2 separate regions of the Homo sapiens genome follow, and region 1 is linked to region 2. Evidence: promoter capture Hi-C in human tissues and cell types (Jung and others, 2019). All regions are on one chromosome and are shown on one strand. The core of a region is centred on a gene start or on the middle of the fragment in contact, and the rest is flanking DNA. Distances in the headings are between cores, read along the strand shown.

Region 1 (5,787 bases), core at 995-3,494, 630 kb after region 2:
TCGAACTCCCCATCTCAGGTGATCCACCCACCTCAGCCTCCCAAAGTGCTGGGATTACAGGCATGAGCCTCTGTGCCTGGCCTAATGTTGACATTTTAAAAATATTGAATTTTCCAATCCATGAACATAGGATGTATTTCCATTCATCTGTGTCTTCTTCAGTTTCCTTCATCAATGTTTCATAATTTTCAGCATGCAAGTGTTTCTGTTTTGGTTAAGTTTGTAGCTATTGTAAATGGGATTGTTTTTTAAATTTCCTTTTCAGGTAGTTTTGCTGTTTGTGTGTTTTAGTATGTTGGTTATCCTGTAACTTTACTAAATTGGTTAGTTAGTTCCAACAGATTTTTTTCCTTTAGGGTTCTGTACATATTTGATTGTGTCATCTGCAAACAGAGATAATTTTACTTATTCTTTTACAATTTGGATGTTATTTTGGTCTAATTATTCTGGCAAGAACTTCCAGTAATATGTTGAACAGAAGTGTCAAGCATGAACATCCTTGCCTTGTATTGGATCTTGGGGGAAGCTTTCGACCTGTCCCCCAAGGTTTGATTGTGGTGTTAGGTTTGGGCTTTTCATATATGATCTTTGTTGTTTTGAGGTAAGTTCCTGCTATATTTATTTTGTTGTAGCTTTAATCATGAATGGATGGCAAATTTTGTCAAATGTTTTTTTCTGCATCTATTGAGAAGATCATGTGGTTTTTTCTTTCATTTTGTTAATGTGCTGTATCTCATTGGTTGATTTGCATATAGTGAACCATCCTTAACTCCCAAGGATAAACTCAAGTTGGTCATAGTATATGATCCCTTTAATGAGCAACTGAATTCAGTTTGCTAGCATTTCATTGAGGACTTTTGCATGTATATTCATTGGGACTATTGCTCTTTAGTTTTCTTTCTTTCTTTTTCTTTTGTATAGTGTTTTTGTCTGGTTTTGGTGTCAGGATGATGCTGGCCTCATAGAATGAATTTGGAAGTATTCCTTATCTTTTTGGGAAGAGTTTAAGGAGAAAGGGTATTAATTATTTTACAAATGTTTCATACAATTCACCCAGGAGGCCATCTGATTCTGGGCTTTTCTTTGCTGGAAGGCTTTGATTATTGATTCAATGTTCTTACTTGTTATTGGTTTCTTCAGGCTTTCTATATTTTCTTAATTCAGGGTATATGGTTCTAATCTTCTAAGTTATAGTTTATTGGCATATAATTAAATTGTTCATAATAGTCCCTTATGATTCTTTTTTTTTTTTTTTTTTTGAGACAGTCCCACTCCATCACCAAGGTTGGAATGCAGTGGCATGATCTCAGCTCACTGCAGCCTCCACCTCCTGGGTTCAAGCAATTCTCATGCCTCAGCCTCCCAAGTAGCTGGGATTACAGGCATGTGCCATCACACTCGGCTAATTTGTGTATTTTTAGTAGAGATGGGGTTTCACCATGTTGGCCAGGCTGGTCTCGAACTCCTGACCTCAAGTGATCCACCCTCCCTGGCCTCCCAAAGTGCTGGGATTATAGGCGTAAGCCACTATGCTCAGCCGATTCTTTTTATTTCTGAGGCACTCTTTGCAATGCGTCCTCTCTTATTTCTGGTTTATTTGAGTTTTTTTTCTTTTTTCTCAGTCTAGCAAAGACTGAGATTTTTTGTTGATTTTTTGTTTTCAAAAAACCAACTCTTAGTCTTATGGAATCTTTTCTCTTGCTTATAAAATTCTCTATTTGAGGCCAGGCCTAGTGGCTCATGCCTGTAATCCCAGCAGGAATCAATTCCTGAGGTCAGGAGTTCGAGACCAGCCTGACCAACATGGTGAAACCCCGTCTCTTACTAAGAATACAAAAATTAGCCGGGCATGCTGGTGGGCACCTGTAATCCCAACTACTCAGGAGGCTCAGGCACGAGAATCACTTGAACCCGGGATCATGCCACTGCACTCCAGCCTGTGTGACACAGTGAGACTCTGTCTCAAAAAAATAAACAAATAAATAAATATATTCTCTATTTCTTCTTTGATCTTTATTAATTCCTTTATTCCACTAATTTGGGGCTTAGTTTGCTCTTTTTCTAGTTCTTTGAGGTGTAATATCTTATTTGAGATCTTTCTCCTTCCTCCCTTCCTCCCTCCCTCTCTCCCCTCCCTCCCTCCCTCCCTTCTTTCTTTCTCTTCCTTCCTTCCTTCCTTTCTTTCTTTCTTTCTTTTCTTTCTTTCTTTCTTTTTCTTTCTATTTCTTTCTTTTTGAGACTGAGTCATGCTCTGTCACCCAGGCTGGAGTGCAGTGGCATGATCTTGGCTCACTGCAACCTCTACCTCCCAGGTTCAAGTGATCTCCTGCCTCAGCCTCCCACGTAGCTGGGATTACAGGCACGCACCACCATGCTTGGCTAATTTTTTGTATTTTTAGTAGAGATGAGATTTTGCCATGTTGGCCAGGCTGGTCTCAAACTCCTGACCTCAAGTGATCCTCCCACCTCGGCCTCCCAAAGTGCTGGGATTACAGGCATGAGCCACTGTGCCCGGCCTTCTTTCTTCTTTTAATGTAGGCATTTATCACTATATACTTCCCTTTTAGTACTGCTTTTGCTGCACCCTATAAATTTTGGTATGTTCTACTGTTTTTCTCTTTTTTTTCCCTTTCTTTCTCTCTTTCTTTTCTTTCTTTCTTTTTTTTTTTTTTTTTTTTTTTCTTTGCCCAGGCTAGCCTCAAACTCTTGGTCTCAAGCAATTTTCCCATCTTGGCCTCCCAAAGCAGTGGGATTATAGATGTGAGCCATCATTTCTAGCCTCAAGATACTCTTAAAATTACCCGTTGATTTCCTCTTTGACCCAAGAGTTGTTCAAGAGTTTGTTGTTGAGTTTCTATGTGTTTGTGATTTTTCCTATTTTCTTAAGATTATTGATTTCTACTTTCATCCCTTGTGGTCCAGAAAGATACTTGGAATAATTCCAATCTTCTTAAATTAGGTCACTTGTTTTGTAATCTAACATATGATCTATCCTGGAGAATGTTCCATGTATGCTTGAGAAAAGTGGATAATCTTCTGTTGTTGGGTGCAAATTTCTTTATATATCTGTTAGGATCATTTGTTTTATAGTGTTTTCTGTTTCTTTTTTGATATTCTGTACATTATTATAAGTGGAGTATTGAAATCCTCTACTATTATCATGTTACTGTCAAATTCTGCCTTCAGATCTGTCAACATTTGCTTTATATATTTAGATGCTCTTTGTTCAGTATATACATATTTATAATTGTTACATAATCATGTTGAAATGATCTTTTTATAATTATATCAAGACTTTGTCTCTGCAGGCAGCTTTAAACTAAAATCTGTTTTGTCTAACATAAGTATAGTTACCCTGCGTATCCTTGGTTACCATTTGCGTGAGAAATCTTTTCTCATCTCTTCACTTTTAGTCTATATGTGTCTTTAACTCTAAAATCAGTCTCTTATAAACAACATACCATTGGATCCTGTTCTTTCAAATTACACAGCCACTCTATGCCTTTTAATTGGTGAGTTTAATCCATTTACATTTAAAGTAATTAGTGATAGCTGAGGACTACTATTGCCATTCTGTTAACTGGTTTGTGTCTTTTGCAGTTATATTGCCCCTCTCTTCCTCTCTTATTATATTCGTTTGTTATTTGATGTTTTATAGTGATTGCTTTGATTCTCATCTCTTTATGTTTTCTGTATCTGTTACAGATTTTATTCTTTGTGGTTAACTTGAGGCTTATGAAAAATATCTTGTATTTCTAACCATCTATTTTTAAGTTTATAACTATTTCAATCACATCCAAAACCTTTATACTTTTGGCCAGGCATGGTGGCTCACACCTGTAATCCCAGTGCTTTGGGAGGCTGAGACAGGAGGATTGCTTGAAGTGAGGTGTTTGAGACCAGCCTGTGCAATGTAGTAAGACCTTGTCTCTAAAAAAAACCAAAACCAAAAACCGTTTTACATTTTTACTCCCCACCCCTACACTTTGTGTTCTTGTAGTCAGTTTGTTGCCTTTTATATTGTGTATCCTTTGACAAATTTTTATCTTTTAATTTTTATATTAGGGTTAAAAGTAAGTTAGGCCCCACCATTATAGTTTTATATTAACTATATTTGTCCATATATTTTCCTTTACTCATAATATTTATGCTTTTATATGTTTTCATTATACTATTTAGTGTGTTTTCATTTCAATTTGAAGAAATAACTCTTTTAAACATTTCTTTTACGGCTGGGCTAGTAGTGACAGACTCCCTTTGTTTTTGTTTGTCTAAGGAAGAATTCATCTCCCCTTCATTTTTAAAGGATAATCTTGCCAGATGTAGATTCACGGTAAGTAGTTTTTTTTTTCCAGTTCTTTCAATATATCATCCCATTCTCTTCGGCATGCAAGGTTTCTGATGAGAAAGCCACTGATAGTCTTATGGTGATTCCCTATATGTGATGCATTACTTTTCTCTTGCAGCTTTAAAATTCTTTCAGTGTCCTTTATTTTAGACAATTTGATTAAAATGTACCTTGGTATAGTCTTGAATTGATCCTCTTTGAAAACCTGTAAGCTTCATGAATCTGGATATCCATTTCCCTCTCAAAATTTGAGAAGTTTTCAGCCATTACTTCTTTATTTTATTTTATTATCATTATTATTATTATAATTTTTTGAGAAGTAGTCTTGCTCTGTCACCCAGGCTGGAGTACAGTGGCACAATCTCAGTTCATTGCAACGTCTGCCTCCCAAGTTCAAGTCATTCTCCTGCCTCAGCCTCCCGAGTAGCTGGAATTACAGGCACCTGCCACCACACCTGGCTAATTTTTGTAGTTTAAGTAGAGACAAGGTTTCACCATGTTGGCCAAGCTGGTCTTTAACTCCTGACCTCAGGTGATCCACCTGCCTCGACCTCCCAAAGTGCTGGGATTACAGGCATGAGCCACTGCACCTAACCCATTATTTCTTTAAAAAAGCTTTTTACCTCTTTCTCTTGCTTTTCTTCTTCTAGTACTCTCATTATGCACATATTGGTTTGCTTGATGGTGTCCCATAAGTCCTATAAATTTTCTTCACTCTTTTTCATTCTTTTTTCTCCTCTGACTGGATAATTTCAAATAACCTGTCTTCAAGGGCACAAATTCTTTCTTCTGCTCAATAAAGTCTATTTTTGAAGTTCTCTATTGTGTTTTTAATATCAGTCATTAGGTTTTTTGGTTCCAGAATTTCTTTCTTTTTCTTTTTTTTTTTTTTTTCTTTTTTTGAGTTGGAGTCTCATTCTGTCACCCAGGCTGGAGTGCAGTGGCATGACCTCAGCTCACTGCAACCTCTGCCTCCCAGGTTCAAGTGATTCTCCTGTCTCAGTCTCCTGAGTAGCTGGGATTACAGGTGCACACCACCATGCCCAGCTAATTTTTTGTATTTTAGTAGATATGGGGTTTCACTGTGTTGCCCAGGCTGGTCTCAAACTCCTGAGCTCAGGCAATCCGCCTACCTTGGCCTCCCAAAGTGCTAGGATTACAGGTGTGAGCCACCACTCCCAGCCTGGTTCTTTTTTATAAGTTCTACCTTCCTGTTGAACTTCTTGTATTGTTCATGTATTCTTTCTCTGTTTTCAGATGAAATCAGACATGTTCGAGGTGGTATGGCCGTAGACTCTTTTTCTGTTTTCACTGAGTTGTCCAACTGTGTTCTCCTATTGCATGCTGAACTTCTTTAAAAACAATTATTTCTAATTGTTTGGAAGGCAATTTATAGATATCCATTTCTTTGGGGTTGGTTATTGGAAAATTATTGTGTT
Region 2 (5,642 bases), core at 1,091-3,590:
TTGGCGGCGGCCAGCGCCAGCCCCTCGGCAGTGCCGTAGAGCAGCTGCAGCTCGCGCGCCTCGTTCTCCTCCTGCGCCTGCTGCCTGCGCAGCGCCACCTGCGCCGCCATGACACGCTGGCGCTCCGCGATGAGCGTGCACTTGGCGCACAGGCAGTCCTTCCAGCGACAGTAGCGTTTGTGGCCCTTGAGGGCCGACACCACGCCATGGTTGCGACAGCGCGCGCACTTGGGGGTCCGCGGGTACTTCTCGGCTGCCCGCAGCAACAGTGGCGGCCCCCGCAGCAAGCCGCCTGCCACGCTCACCGGTAGCGATGCAGCGGCCGCCGCGGCTGCCGCCACCGACGCCACCGACGCCACAGGCGGCCCCGTCGCTGTTGCCGCCGCCGCCGTCGCCGCGCCGGGCACGCTGGGCAGCTCCGAGCGCAGCTCCATGACAGGACCTGACGGGAAAGAAGGTGGGAGAGGGGAGAGACCTGGTGAGGAGCACACCGCGCGCTAGGCCAAAGCGCCGCCTTGAGGAACCCAAGCTGGAGAGGGAAATTTGGGCCGCGGAGGCTGGGCTAGAGGGGCCAGAATTGCTGGGAGGAGGTGCAGTCGGAACCTCCTTGTGAGCCCTAGCACCTTCACCCCAGTCTGGCCATGGCTGCTCTTAGACCTGATATACACGCTAGGGGTAAGATTTTGTCTGAATTAGTGATTCCGCTGGAAAAAATAAAGAGACATGTAAAGTGTGAAAGTCACTGATTCAGATGGCTGTAATGAGAATTTGGAAAAGTTAAGATGATACCCCAAAGCTTAGCCTAATTGGGGTGAGACGGGTGAGAGAAATGCTCGTTTGACGGGACTGGGATTAGAGCGACAGTTTTGGCCCAGAAGTTAGGCTGATGCCAAGGGCAAAACAGGAAAACCCGGAGCAAAACGGTCAGTTTGGTGGAAGGGTGAAGAGGAGAGAGATGTGAAGGCGCAGATGTGAAGGCCGGTTGGGCCGGAGTTTTGTTTCTTTTTGTTTGTTTATTTTTAATGCAGTTTGGGGCAGAAGCTTTGGAGAGAAAAATCAACAACAGAAAGAATAGCTTTAGGAAGCAGAGTGAGGACGAGGAAACAACTTGGGCAAAGTTAGGCCCAGTGGCTCTGGGACCCGTAAAAATGTGAGCGCCAAAAGTTCCACGGTGAGGGCCTCCAGAGAGTGAGAGACAAAATGTATGTGGAATTTAGCTTAGGACTGGGAAGTATTAAAGAGAAAAATTCGGCCAAAGAAACTTTCTGTATAGGCAAACCCAGCCCAAAGATGAGCTTCATGGGCAAGGAAAACAGTGAAAAGCAGCTGATCTGGGTGTCCGGGATCCAGGGGCCGCGCCTGGGAGAGGGGAATGTGTAAGAAAAAACCCCACAGGCAAATGCTGGGGGAGGGGATTGGGTAAAACCTGTGGTGCAGTTTTTTAGCTTCGCAGTCTGGAGTAGTAGTCGGGGCGGAAGACGTATCCTGCGAAAAGTTAGGCATTTCGGGAGGGGGATCTTTCTCGAAGACCACCTCACACTGCCCTCCCCTCCCCTCCGGGTTTAGGGACAGAGTCGTCAGACACGCCCTCCCCGTCTTGGGGTCCCAGGGGACCCCTCTCGAGCGCAGGCTCCTGCGTTCTGATCTCAGAGTTGGGGTCCTAGGACACGGATGGCCCAGCAGGCCGCACCAAGCCAGGGGAGTCGCCTTCGCAACTGGCCATAAACGGACACCAGAGTCCCTCCCACGCCGCAGCCCCATAAGGCCCAAGCAGGCCCAGCTCCCCGCTTCTGCCGCGGTCTCCTCTGCTTCCCGCGTTCCCCGTCCCTGCCAGAGCCCGCGACAGAGTCCTTGTGTCTCCGTCCGAGAGTCCCAGACCTCCTCTCTATGAGCGTTGCCTCCTCTCCCAGACCCTTCGGGCGTCCCTAAGGCCCACGGGGCCCAGGCCTCCTCAACAGGGGCCGCAGACCAGGTCTCCACCCACTGCTCTCCCTGCGGCCCTCAACTACCTGCCTTGGGCTCCGGGATCCTCCTCCTCCGCTGGCGCTGCACGCGCCTCCCGGCTCCACTGGCGACGCTGGAGCTCTTGGCCGCTTCCCTTTGCCCCCGGCCCCTTATCTGACCACGTCACCCTCCTTCAGTCACCATGTCCGAACTTCCGGACCCCTCAGAACGCAGCGCAGTCCAACCCTCCCTTCAGAAATCCGGGTCGGAGGCTCGTCTGCGGGCCGCGTGGTTGGAACCCGCGACCTGACTCTCGCCGTGCCGGGTCCCCTCGCGGTGCGCGCCGGACGCTGCGCGCAGCCGGGGCCCAGTTGCCCGGCGCTGCCAGACTCTCAATGAGCCGCTCGCCCGCTCTATTGTTGGTCCTTAGGGCTCCATTAGACAGAATTGGACAACAATGTGGCGCCTGCCATTGGCCAGGGGAGGCAGACGGCGCTCTGATTGGCCGGGCCCGCGCCCGGGGAGCCCCGCATTCTGCAGTGTCCGAAAGATTCGAAACTCCAAAAGCTCCACTGCGTGCCTCTGGGAGGGGAGGGGGCGCGCCAGGAAAGGAGTGGAAAAAAGTGGGCGAGGAGGAGCGTTGAAAATTTCCTGACAAGTAGTTTCCGTGCGCCCGAGAGCGTGTGAATTGCTCCTAATTACCGTGTCCGGTGCGCCTCTCTGCGTAGACTTGTGTAACCTCTCGGCTTCTGGGGCGCCGGCTCGGCTGCACCGCTCTTACTGGCCTGGGGCGCTTGGCAAAGCCGAGCTTCCCAAGTGGCTCTGGAGCCCTGAGGCGGGATGGGGGGCAGGTGACAATTCAATTACTGCGGTCGGGGTAGGGGCGGGACAAGGGTGCGGGGGTGGGGAAGGGAGGGTGTTCAAGGCATAAATGCCAGGACGATTTTTCCTGCCTTCTTCCTGCTATGTTTCGGCGCGCTCCCAAATCCGACGAGTTTGGGGTAGTTGGGGGCTGCTTTGGTTTTTTCCTCCTGTCTCCTTAAAGCTCAGTTACTTTATTTTAAAAGTCCTGATACGATAGTCATCCTGGAGGGTAAGTGTGGTTTATGAAGATTTTCGTGTTTAAAGAGAAGCTCAGCGAAGAGAAATGAGATTGCACTTCCTGTCGGTGCCCGCCACGTCCCTCGCGCCCTGAGCCTTTCCTCTCCCCGCCCCTCTTTTCGCGTCCCTCAGCCCCTTTTGAGCTCTCTTTTCCTCACTTTTCAGCATCTCGATTTCTTTTCCGTGGTGGTGGGATTCTTTTTGTCGTTATTGCAAATGAACAAATAGCCCCCCCCCCTTTTTTTTTCTTTTCTAAACGAAAGTAAAAAGTGGCCTCTGTGTCTCCGCAGATTCTCTTAAACTCAGGACGCGCATCGGTCTGTCCGACCTTCCCGGCAAGAGACAAAGTCACTGCTGGGAGGCCCCCTCGGACAGTTTTCAGTTTTAACTTTCGCCTTATTCTCGTCTTGTCTTGATGTCACGGCCCTGAGGAACAGCTCGTTCTGCAGAAGAGGTAACAGGTTTCAGATTTTGTTTCCTTTTTGAAAGGCTGTTGCCTTTCAAACATCTGGAATTAATGCCGCGGCCCTCGGGCGAGTCGCCCTCGGTTTCTGTAGCTCTGATTTTATCTCTGTGTCTTTTCCCCTCTAATTTCTAAAGTTCTGTTTTTCCCTCTAATTCTGTTTTTCCCTCTAATTTCTAATGTTCTGTCACTCTCGTTTTTGTTCTCTACTTTTCTCTCTCTCCTTCAGAATAAAGAAAATTCGTTTAAATAATGAGGAAAATGAGCGTTCCTGTCGTTCTCCCTCCACTCTTGACCGTGCGTCTCTGCGTTGCTCTTTCGAACCTCCAGGCCGGCGGGAATCTGGGCGCGCAGACTCGGCCCGGGTCGTCGCGGCCTCAGGACGCAGCCCATTCCGCCTGGCACGACTACTGGGCCGCGTCTTGTCAGTCTATCAGCTTCTGAGCCCAGGAATGGGGGTGGGGGAAGGACGGTGCGACTAACGGGCCCCCACCCGAAGACCGCAGAACCTGGCGCCCCGGAAGAGCCCTGGAAGATGCCCACCGGGAGGCTGAGGCTGGAGGGAGGAGTGGGTGGGGGTGATTCGCTGGAGGACCGGGCGGAGAGCTTCCAGAAAGTTCACCAGGCCCCGGCGCGAGGGCGCTCCGACACGGACAAGGTCTATGATAGCGATAAAAAGCTGGTTACTCGCTCCCAGAAAATGCCACTTGCTGGAGTCTGTGAATGGGTTTAGGAGAGAGAAGGGTGTCAGCCCCCGCGAGGGTCTCCCGCGTGAAGTGAGGATAAGGGAGTGCTTCAGGGATAATATGTCCTCTAGGAGCGCAGGACCCAGACCCCACCTTCCAACACCTGGAGGTTCCGAGGCCAAGTATGTCTAGCCCCGGCTGCACCTGGGTAGGTGAGCCATGGGGTCGGGGGAAGAGCGCCGACAACCGCCGGATTCCGCGCAGGGGCCGCCAGGCGCCTGCTCCCAGAGCTCCTTTGGACAAAGTTTTCGGGAAATTCTATTAAACCGAAAACGAAATAAACTATACAAATCTGCCTAGCTTTTGAGGGGGCGGTGGCCCAGGTATCCTTCTCGCTTGAGGCCAGGTCACCGTGAGATTTCCCCACTCCGGACCGGGGATCCCGCAGAAGCCAAGGGTGTAGCCACGAGGACTCGGGAACCCGAGGCGGCCCAGCAGATGCGTGAGGAACTTCATTTTCTCAGGAGTGGGAGGAGGAGCATCCTGGCATCTAACACAGCCCAACCAGAGGGAATCCGCCCAACCCCTAGTGGCGGCATCTCACTCTTCTCTCGCTCCTCTTTTCTGGCATTCACATCCCCACAGGTCTGAGACCCACAGCCTTTTCTCCCACTCCCCGGAGGTTAGGGTGTTCATGTGAGTGAATGTGTTATGGAGGGAGGCAAAATAAACCCGTTATGGAGGGAGGGCAAATAAACCCAAGGTCATCTCACCCACACTTCGACAGGGCAGGATATCCTCTGCCCAGCTTCCCAGGCCGCTCCAGGGCCAGTTCCTCCTGATTTGGATTGGGTTGGTCGGAGGGGAAAGCAAGGGCATGGCCCAACTGAGCCACCAGCACTAGTAGAGCACGCCCAGGTTGAGGCAGCAGGGTCTACCCCCTTCCCAACCTGAGTGTAGCTTCACACTTGGACACACCCCCTCCCACGTGCGTGTGACCACTCTCTGCAAAGTTTGGGACACACTCTCACGCCAGCATTCAGAGAGCACCACCGGGCCCAGGCTCAACTCTGATGCTACCCTCCGGCTCAAGGGGACCCCTTCAGTGAGTTTGACCTCACAGTGTTCTTATAAGCATGTCCCCATCCTGGGCCATCCACTTGGTGTGTGACATTCCCAGACTCCCACAGATTTCCACCTCGGTGATAGCACACGCCGACAGGAGCACATTCTTACGCAGGTATGCCCTGGTTTATGCGCGGAGCTCCAGTCTTACTTCTACAGTTGGGCCCCGGGCAGAAAAAGCCAAAACCCTCCGGGACAAATGAGGCGGCTGAGAGCAGAGGGTCTTCCTCACACATCCACACGCGTACTCTTAGCTCAGAATCATTTGCTGACGCCTCTGCTGTGCCAGGGGCTGGGGGCCCGGGTGAGAGGGCCCAGCCAAG

Evidence for each region. The method cuts DNA at HindIII sites, captures the fragments that hold promoters and counts their contacts. A contact is called where the count stands out against the background at its distance.
Region 1: a contact is called between a fragment that was not itself captured here and the fragment with the promoter of DMRTA2 in region 2, in 1 of the 25 tissues and cell types used here (dorsolateral prefrontal cortex).

What each region holds. Positions count from the first base shown.
Region 1 is chr1:51,053,033-51,058,819 of GRCh38, forward strand. No RefSeq gene overlaps it. Among named protein-coding and RNA genes, the nearest start is that of MIR4421, 3.9 kb to the right of the region's middle. The HindIII fragment of the contact is 5,033 bases long and covers 1-4,761 here.
Region 2 is chr1:50,421,103-50,426,744 of GRCh38, forward strand. DMRTA2 (DMRT like family A2) reads right to left here and starts at 2,341. Exons shown (of 3, transcript NM_032110.3): 1 at 2,014-2,341; 2 at 1-442. The coding sequence starts at 434. It overlaps LOC105378714 (a long non-coding RNA gene), which reads left to right and starts at 2,444. Exons shown (of 3, transcript XR_947325.3): 1 at 2,444-2,795; 2 at 3,336-3,499; 3 at 3,738-3,770. RefSeq lists enhancers at 137-636, 5,348-5,642 and a silencer at 3,464-3,523. The HindIII fragment of the contact is 21,358 bases long and covers 1-5,642 here.